3 separate regions of the Homo sapiens genome follow, and regions 2 and 3 are each linked to region 1. Evidence: promoter capture Hi-C in human tissues and cell types (Jung and others, 2019). All regions are on one chromosome and are shown on one strand. Each heading gives the region's core, a stretch centred on a gene start or on the middle of the fragment in contact. The rest is flanking DNA. Distances are from core to core; before and after follow the strand shown. Region 1 holds the start of ZNF324B (zinc finger protein 324B). Region 2 has its middle 19 kb from the start of ZNF135. Region 3 overlaps LOC124904784 (a long non-coding RNA gene).

Region 1 (3,026 bases), core at 137-2,636:
CGGCTCCCGGGTTCACGCCATTCTCCTGCCTCAGCCTCCCGCCACCACACCTGGCTAATTTTTTTGGATTTTTAGTAGAGACCGGGTTTCACTGTGTGAGCCAGGATGGTCTCGATCTCAGCGCTCCCGCAATTTCTTTCCCACATTGCTGCCACCCTCTCCTATTCAGCCACCTGCCGAACTCCTCCCCTGATAGCCTCAGGCACCCCAGCCGGTTTTCTTTACCCTCAAGCTGTAACTCCGCACGCCTGACTGCTCATCGCCTTCTTCAGTCCAGTTTATAGGCCCTGTCCTCAGCCCAGGACACCAACAACGTCAGGTCCAGTGACATGACCAACCTGGGACATCCCAGACTCTTGATCTTTCCCCTGAAGGAAACCTGCTTTCCTTTCAATTCTCCTTTCTATCTACAGCAGCTCTCTTCTTCCAGGCGCTCAGGCTGAACAACATGGGGTACTTAGTTCTTCAAACAGCCCACACCTGATGCATCCGCAGATCCACCAGAATTCACCTGGTCGCCCACCTCCACTGCTGCCCAGACTGTGGCAGTCGGTTCTTCCCTTCATGCCGACACCCCTGCATGTCTGTTCTCCACGCAACAAACGGTGGAACCGTTTTAAAGTCCCAACTCAGAGGATGTCCTGATTCTGTTCAAAACTTCTATGTCTCCCGACGCCCTCGAGATAAAGCCCACTCCCTCGCCTGCTACTGCAGCCGCACACATCCCCTCTACTCCAGCTCCACATCGAGAGCGCTCAGTCCCAGAAGCATCTGGGCTTCGGCTCCCCTCCCAGGTTTTGCACACGCAGGACTCTCCCCTCGGAGCCTCCTTCGGGACCTCAGCCCCCTGGCTGCCGGAAGTCGGGAGCTCACCAGTGCCCTGGACGCAGGAGTTTGCACTGACCCCCGCAACCCCCCCAGGGCAGGGAGAGGAAAGACGACTAGGCGAGGTCTAGGAAGCGGCCTCACTCCGTGGGGGCGCAGTCTGTGTGAGCAGGGACTCCCCCGCCCCCCCGGCGCGGGCTTGTCAGCGCCACCGCCGCCAGCGGAACCCGCAACTGGGAGGGAAGAAAGGCATGGACCACCCGGGACCGCCATCCCCGCCAGCAGCCTCCCGCGGCTGCCCCGCGCCTCAGCCTGCCCGGCAGTCATGGGCGCAGAATGCCCAATGCGCTGCCTCCTGGGCTTCCGCGGGGCGGGAGAACGCGTGGTTCCCGCCGGGGCCCGACCGCCCCCGGGCCGACCACGTCATACTCGAAGATACCGAGGCTTGGGGGCGCGGCCGGCTGCTCGTGGTCCGTACCTTCCTGGCCGCCCGCCTCGGGCCCCGACCCGCGCGCCACAGCCCAGACCACCGGTGTGGCCTGACGCGAGCAGCCAAGTGACAGTCCCAACGCCGGAAGTCCAGCCCCCAGAGCTCACATTGCCCCAATACGCGCGCAGACGCTTGCGCACAGCCTTCTGGGTTATGTGGTTCCTGCCTGTTTTTCGGCGCGGAGGCGGGGCCATTACCAGTCTCCATGGCAACGGCTAAGCGCCGCCGCGCTGGGCGCCTGGAAATGGAGTAGCGCAGCTGCCGCGGGTTTCCAAGGGCTCCGTGGCACTGGTTGAGTCGCCCGGCAGGTTGTCCCGCGTTGGGGATTCCCAGTTCCTGGCACCCACCTAAGCAGCCCTGGAGACTAAACCCTGCAGGTGTGAAAGCAGAAACTGCGGAGGTTCCAGAAGGCAACACCAGCAGGTAGCAGGGAGGAGAAAACGCACCGGGTAGGGCAGGTGTAGGTGGAGGAGCAGATGCCTGGAGCTCCGGGTTCCCTTCCCAGCTTTGCATCTCACTGACTGTGCATCCTGGGCGAGGGTTTGATCTCTCTGTGTGTCAGTGTCCCGTAAAGGTTTAAGGTCCGTTTTTCAACCTCTACACCAAGAATTCTCAGCCTGTAATGACACTACCCGCTTGTCATTTGTCTTGATTCTGTGATTGTTCTTGGACGCTCGCCCAAAACTTGTTTTCCTTGTAACTTGGACGAGCAGAAGGTAATTCCCCAGCCTTGCTTGTCCTTAGACCATCTAGTTCTTGCTTTGCCCCACACATCACAACATGGATGCTTTGTTCCTTTTTTCTCTGGACCAATCTAAGTGTCTTTGACACATAACAACAAAAGGCAGGGCAGTCTCAATGTAGACTGACCATGTTGTTGGCAGAGAATAAACGATTCTCTCTTTGTTGCTTCCCTGTGAGGGTCTTGTTTTTAGGATCCTTAGACAGTTCTCAGATGTCAAGTACGTTAATTCATTTTGTCTTCCTCTATACCCACCTCCATCTATAAATATCTGTCTACTGTCAGCTATAACTGTCCACAGAATTGATTCTACTTGTAGATCCCTATAGTGTAAGATAGCTCGACAATTTTTGAATGTTTTTATTTAAATTTTTCCTGCTTTGAAAGAATTTAAGAACACTTAAGTACTATTGTGATTTAATCAAATGCTTAGAGGCATTATTAACATTTCAAGCAATTTTTTTTTACTTTTTTTTTTTTTTTTTTGAGACAGGGTCTCACTCTCTTACCCAGGATGGAGTGCAGTGGTGCATACTCGGGTCACTGCAACCTCCGCCTCCCATGCTCAAACAGTCCTCCAACTTCAGCCTCCCAAGTAGCTGGAACTACAGGCAGGAGCCACGATGCCTGGTGTATTAGTCTGTTTTCACGTTGCTGATAAAGACATATCTGAGACTGGGTAATTTATAAAGAAAAAGAGGTTTAGTGGACTCATAGTTCCACGTGGCTGGAGAGGCCTCACAATCATGACAGAAGGTGAAAGGCACGTCTTACATGGCAGCAGGCAAGAGCAAATGAGAGTCAAGCAAAAGAGGAAACCCCTTATGAAACCATCAGATCTCGTGAGACTTACTCACTACCACAAGAATAGTATGGGGGAAACTGTCCCCATGACTCAGTTACCTCTAACTGGGGCCCCTTCCACAACATGTGGGAATTATGAAAGCTACAATTCAAAATGAGATTTGG
Region 2 (3,026 bases), core at 341-2,840, 370 kb after region 1:
AAAAAAAAAAAAAAAAGAGATAGCAAGAGACGCCAGAGATTGCTCCCTCTCCATGCACACACAGAGGAAAGGCCATAGGCAGGTGCAGACACAGCAGGATGGCAACCATCTACAAGCTTGGAAGAGAGGCTTCACGTGGAACCCACTCTGACTTCCAGCCTCCAGAACAGGGAGAAAATATTAATAAATTCCTGTTGATTCAGCTTCCCAGCCTGTGGTATTTTGTGATCACAACCCAAGCAGACAAATACATGTCTGCCATCACTATTTGAGTTGAGGAGAGTTTTATGAATCAGTGTCAACTAGTGCAATCATTTTGGAAAGCTAACAGTCCAACTGTATTCAGTAACAATACGGGGCCAGGCACAGTGGTTCACACCTATAATCCCAACACTTTGGGAGGCCAAGGTGGGAGGATCCCTTGAGCCCAGGAGTTCAAGACCTCCCTGGGCAACATAGTGAGACCCCACTTTTTCCTCCACAAAAAGGAAAAAAAAGGACCAAAAATATATATATACACAAGGATGCTGGTTTGCATGAAGTTAAATACTATGACTTAAATATGAATGGTAGAGCCATTCAAAGCAATAGTAAAAAGGCATAAATGATAATTAAGACTAGCAAAATCGAAGAATTTTTTTTTTTTAGACAGAGTCTCGCTCTCGCTCTGTTGCCCAGGCTGGAGTACAATGGCGTGATCTCAGCTCACTGCAACCTCCGTCTCCCAGCTCCAAGCAATTCTCCTGCCTCAGCCTCCGGAGTAGCTGGATTACAGGTGCGCACCACCACACCTGGCTAATTTTTGTATTTTTAGTAGAGACGGGGTTTCATCATATTGGTCAGGCTGGTCTCAAACTCACGTCCTCATGATCCACCCGCCTCAGCCTCCCAAAGTGCTGGGGATTACAAGCGTTAGCCACCGCGCCCGGCGCTGGAAGAGTAATTTGTAAGTGTAGTTCAAGTAGAATGTAACTGTTGATTCTGTTGCAACTGTGTAAACAGTGGGCATTAGTTGTCAAATCCTAGCAGACAAAGTATAGAAATGCAAAGAGTAGTTGTGTTAGGGTCATGAAATTATGAGGACATTTATTTCAGTTTTTTAAATTCCTTTGAAAGTTTTTTTTGTTTTTTTTTTGAGACAGAGCCTCGTTCTGTCACCCAGGCTGGAGTGCAGTGGCACAATTTCAGCTCACTGGAAGCTCTGCCTCCCAGGTTCAAGCGATTCTCTCGCCGTGGTGTACTGAATAGCTGGGATTACAGGCCCCTGCCACCATGCCCGGCTAACTTTTGTATTTTTAGTAGAGATGGGGTTTCACCATGTTGGCCAGACTGGTCTCGAACCCCTGGCCTCAAGTGATCTGCCCACCTCAACCTCCCAAAGTGCTAGGTGTGAGCCACCGCGCCCAGCCATGGGCTTTTATAATAAAGTTCATTTTTCACCATTTTAAAAAGAATTCTCCCAATTATGTAAAAGTTAAAAACACAGATTCGGCCGGGCACTGTGGCTCATGCCTGTAATCCCAGCACTTTGACAGGCCCAGGTGGGAGGATCACCTGAAGTCAGGAGTTCAAGACCAGCTTGGCCAACATGGTGAAACCTTGACTCTAGTACAAATACAAAAAAATTACCTAGGCATGGTGGTGCGTGCCTGTAGTCCCAGCTACTTCAAGAGGCTGAGGCACAAGAATCATTTGAACCCAGAGGCAGAGGTTGCAGTGAGCCGAGATCGTGCCACTGCACTCCAGCCTGGGCAACAGACTACTCCTTTTGACATCTCAGTGTATTTATGTCTCCCAGTCATTTTTCAGGGTATGAGATGTGAGTATAATGTGTTTGGTATATGTGTAGTCTGCGTACATTCTAAGTGTGTCTCTTGGGTATCATGAAAAAATGAGTGAGGTGTCTGATGGGTCTCGGGAATACCCTGTGGACTTCCTTCAGGCAGATACAGAACAGGATAGGGTGATGTGCTTTTGATGCAAAGAAAGGCAGATACTCCATTCTGCCTACCCTGAGTCCAGTGAAGTCAGTGATTTATTAGTAGCTGTTCCTTCAACCTGAGAGGCTCCTGGGATGGGGCCACACTTGGGAACTATGGGCTTCGCAGACAAACTGCTTCAGGAAGTTTGGGCACAGTTCTCACTTGAGGCTTCCGGGTCTGTTTCAGAATCACCCAGTGCCTTGGTGTGCAGATTACCAAACCCCCTCGGACCAACCAAAGCAAGGTCCCAGGTTTAACACCCTCCACCTTCAGGTGGTTTTCACTCACATCAAAATGGGAGATCCATTACCCTTGGCAGTGCTGGGTTCTGTCTTCCCAGTGTCCATGCAGAAGTCTCTAAGACGAGGGTTGCTGGAACCAGGGGTCGATCCAGATTTGTTGGGCCTAAGGCTCACACAACTGAGGGGTCCCTCTTCAGAAGAATAATTCAAAATTACAAAGATAAAATTAGGCGCTTGGTCTTGAAGGGATCCCTGAAAGTGAGGGACCTAGAGTTTCAGCTTACTTTCATGGCAAATCCATGAAGCCAGAGCCTCAAAACATAGTGCAGCCCAGCCTTCCCTCAACTCGAGAGAACATGAATTTGTAGAAAGGTTCCCAGATGTCTCAATGAAATGAACAGCTTTCCAAAGTCCAGCCTCTGGCTGACCAGGTAGCTCTTGAGACACAGGCTCCTGAGGGACCAGCCACATGCGATGGGGGCAACTGCCAGGGAAATCTGCTCAGTGAGAGGGTGGCTTCTGGGACATGGTAAATCTAAGCTCCCCAGCTCCTCACCAAGGCCCCAGTACTGGGGAGGTCTCTCCAGCTGTGGCTCTGCCTGTCTTTTCACGGAGGTTTGCCCTGATGCCATGGTTTTAATGTGACGTCCCTCACCCCATTCACCAAACACAATAATCCCCAAGTTGTTATCATCTCTGGGCTGGTATTCATCTTATCACTTTTTTTTTTTTTTTTTTTTTTGAGACAAAGTCTTGCTCTTGTCGCCCAGGCTGGAGTGCAGTGGCACAATCTCGGCTCACT
Region 3 (3,026 bases), core at 244-2,743, 290 kb after region 1:
CCAATACTGACTGCATTCATAGTGTTCTCCAGTATGAGTCCTCTTACGTTCAATAATATGAGAACAACTCCTGAATGCTCTTCCACGCAAATTACATGTATGGGGTTTTCCTCAGTATGAGTCCTCTGATGTCACATCATAAGGGCTAGGCTACGTCTGAAGCCTTTCCCACGATGACTGTATCCATCACTTTGCTCTCCAGTGTGTCTTCTGTGATTTTTGAGTAGTGGAGGAGCAAAGTGTAAAACCTTTCCCTGAATGATTCCCTTCATAAGGTGTCTCTATAGATTCTTAGCTATAGGGTAAAAGTGTTCACTTCTTTAGAAGAATTTCCTAAATTCACTGCAAATATATAATTTCCCACAAGTATAAATTGTCTCATATTGAATAAGGTATAATTTGTGTCTACAGCCTTTGCTACAGCGATTACATTTATAGTATTGTTCTCCTGTATAAGTTCTGAAACATACTGAAAGAAATATTTCTTAATAAAGACTCTCCAACACTCAACACATTTGTAAGGTCTATTTCCTGAGAGAGTTTGCTCATACATCAGTGGGGTTGAGCTCTGTTTAAAGACTTCTTTACACATACTACATTTATATGGTCTCTCTCCAGTATGACTTCTCTGATGTCAGAAAGTATTTACCATAAACAGGGATTTCTCACATTCAGAACATCTGGAGGGTTTGTCAACTGTGTGAGTGCTCTCAAAACAAAGATGAGAGGAGCTCTGAATACACTTTTCCACATTCCTTACATTCAACTCAACTCTCTCTAACATGAATTCGCTTACATTGACTGAGACTTGTGCTACACTTAAAAAATTTACTACGTATATTTCATATATAAGGCTTTTCTACACTGAACTGTTTGCAAGTCTAAGAAGTTGAGTGTTTTGACCAAAAGCATTCCCAAAATCATAATTTTCAGGGGTTTTTCCCTGTGCATTTATGGTTTATTAAATCTGAATGTTGTTTTACAATGAGTCATGTATGTAGTGGTATTCATTGATAAGAATATTGTTTAGTGGGCCAGGCACGGTGGCTCACGCCTGTAGTCCCAACATTTTGAGAGGCCAACGTGGGTGGATCACAAGGTCAGGAGTTCAAGACCAGCCTGGCCAAGATGGCGACACCCCTGTCTCTACTAAAAATACAAAAATTAGCCAGGTGTGGTGGCGGGTGCCTGAATCCCAGCTACTTGAGAGGCCGAGGCAGAGAATTGCTTGAACCCAGGAGGTGAAGGTCGCAGTGAGCCAAGATCATGCCATTGCACTCCAGCCTGGGTGACAGAATGAGACTCTGTCTCAAAAAACAAAAACAAGGCCAGGCGCGGTGGCTCATGCCTGTAATGGCAGCACTTTGGGAGGCCAAGGAGGGTGGATCATGAGGTCAGGAGATCGAGACCATCCTGACTAACACGGTGAAACCCCGTCTCTACTAAAAATACAAAAAATTAGCTGGGTGTGGTGGCGCGCGCTTGTAGTCCCAGCTACTCTGGAAGCTGAGGCAGGAGAATGGCATGAACCCGGGAGGCAGAGCTCGCAGTGACCTGAGATCCTGCCACTGCACTCCAGCCTGGGTGACAGAGCAAGACTCTGTCTCAAAAACAAAACAAAACAAAACAAAAAAGAATATTGTTTAGTGGAAGAAGGCTTGAATTCTACTTAACATTAGCTGTGCATTTCTTATTCTTGCAACCTCATTCCTGAATCAGTGTTCCTCAAGCATCATTTGTTTGACTCATCTCTCCTGGTCCTCCTTCTGCTTCTCTAAGTGGACCTTACAGTCCTGGTTTCTTCCAAATGTGAAGAAATGAAGCTCATTCTTTGTGAATCTTTCCACTTTCAGGATGGCATTTTTGTTGTTGTTGTTTTTATTTTGTTTTGTTTTGTTTTGAGACGGAGTCGTCCTCTGTCACCCAGGCTGGAGGGCAGTGGCGCAGTCTCGGCTTACTGCAACCTCTGCCTCCTGGGTTCAAACAATTCTCCTGCCTTAGCCTCCCAGGTAGCTGGGATTACAGGTACACGCCACCATGCCCAGCCAATTTTTGTATTTTTTTTTTAGTAGAGACGGGGTTTCACCGTGTTGGCCAAGCTGGTCTCAAACTCCTGACCTTGTGATCCACCCACCTCAGTCTCCCAAAGTGCTCGGATTTCAGGCATGAGCCACCACGCCTGGCCTGGCATATGGTTTTCAGACAAATGTCTTCCTTCCTGGTTATCTCTTTGCTTTTGATGATAGTTTCACAATCCAAAAAAAAAAAAAAACCAGATACATTTGTACATCCCCTACAGTTGTTCACTGAATAAATTATGGCTTGTTCAATCAATTAAAAAACCATAATTTTAAGAGCTGGAGAGAAAATGCTGGTATTAAGCACATCGAAAGCATGTTGATTTGTTTCCAAATCTGTCTTGCCAGGAGCGACTGAGCAAATAAGAATAAGCCCAGTCTCTCCAGGTGGCTGATAGGAAAATAGATCAATCTCTGCTAGTAGTCATTTCTCACTCTCTTTTCTTTTTCTTTCTTTCTTTTTTTTTTTTTTTCTTTTGAGACGGAGTCTCGCTCTGTCGCCCAGGCTGGAGTGCAGTGGCACGATCTTGGCTCACTGCAAGCTCTGCCTCCTGGGTTCACGCCATTCTCCTGCCTCAGCCTCCTGAGTAGCTGGGACTACAGGCGCCCGCCACCATGCCCAGCTAATTTTTTGTATTTTTAGTAGAGACGGGATTTCACCATGTTAGCCAGGATGGTCTCGATCTCCCAACCTCGTGATCCACCAGCCTCAGCGTCCCAAAGTGCTGGGATTACAGGCGTGAGCCACCGCGCCCAGTCTCCTCACGCTGTTTTCAAGATGCTCTTCTGGACCCCAGTGCTTTGGGGGCTTGTCCTGAGCCCTCTTCTCTCATCCACCAGTATGGTCTGTTTTATTCTGCTGGCTTCAAACACCATCTGAACATTGATGAATCACAATTTGTAGCTTCATTCCAGATTCTTTTCTGAGCATGGACATATTTCACCATA

Evidence for each region. Contacts are between HindIII fragments. The study calls those that stand out against the background at their distance.
Region 2: a fragment that was not itself captured here is called in contact with the fragment with the promoter of ZNF324B in region 1 in 1 of the 25 tissues and cell types used here (dorsolateral prefrontal cortex).
Region 3: a contact is called between a fragment that was not itself captured here and the fragment with the promoter of ZNF324B in region 1, in 1 of the 25 tissues and cell types used here (spleen).

Annotation. Positions count from the first base shown.
Region 1 is chr19:58,449,982-58,453,007 of GRCh38, reverse strand. ZNF324B (zinc finger protein 324B) reads right to left here and starts at 1,386. Exons shown (of 4, transcript NM_207395.3): 1 at 1,304-1,386. RefSeq lists silencers at 947-1,376, 1,354-1,680. The HindIII fragment of the contact is 12,073 bases long and covers 1-3,026 here.
Region 2 is chr19:58,076,612-58,079,637 of GRCh38, reverse strand. No RefSeq gene overlaps it. Among named protein-coding and RNA genes, the nearest start is that of ZNF135, 19 kb to the right of the region's middle. The HindIII fragment of the contact is 6,468 bases long and covers 1-3,026 here.
Region 3 is chr19:58,164,000-58,167,025 of GRCh38, reverse strand. All of the region lies in intron 1 of LOC124904784 (a long non-coding RNA gene), which reads right to left. Among named protein-coding and RNA genes, the nearest start is that of ZNF329, 15 kb to the right of the region's middle. The HindIII fragment of the contact is 6,997 bases long and covers 1-3,026 here.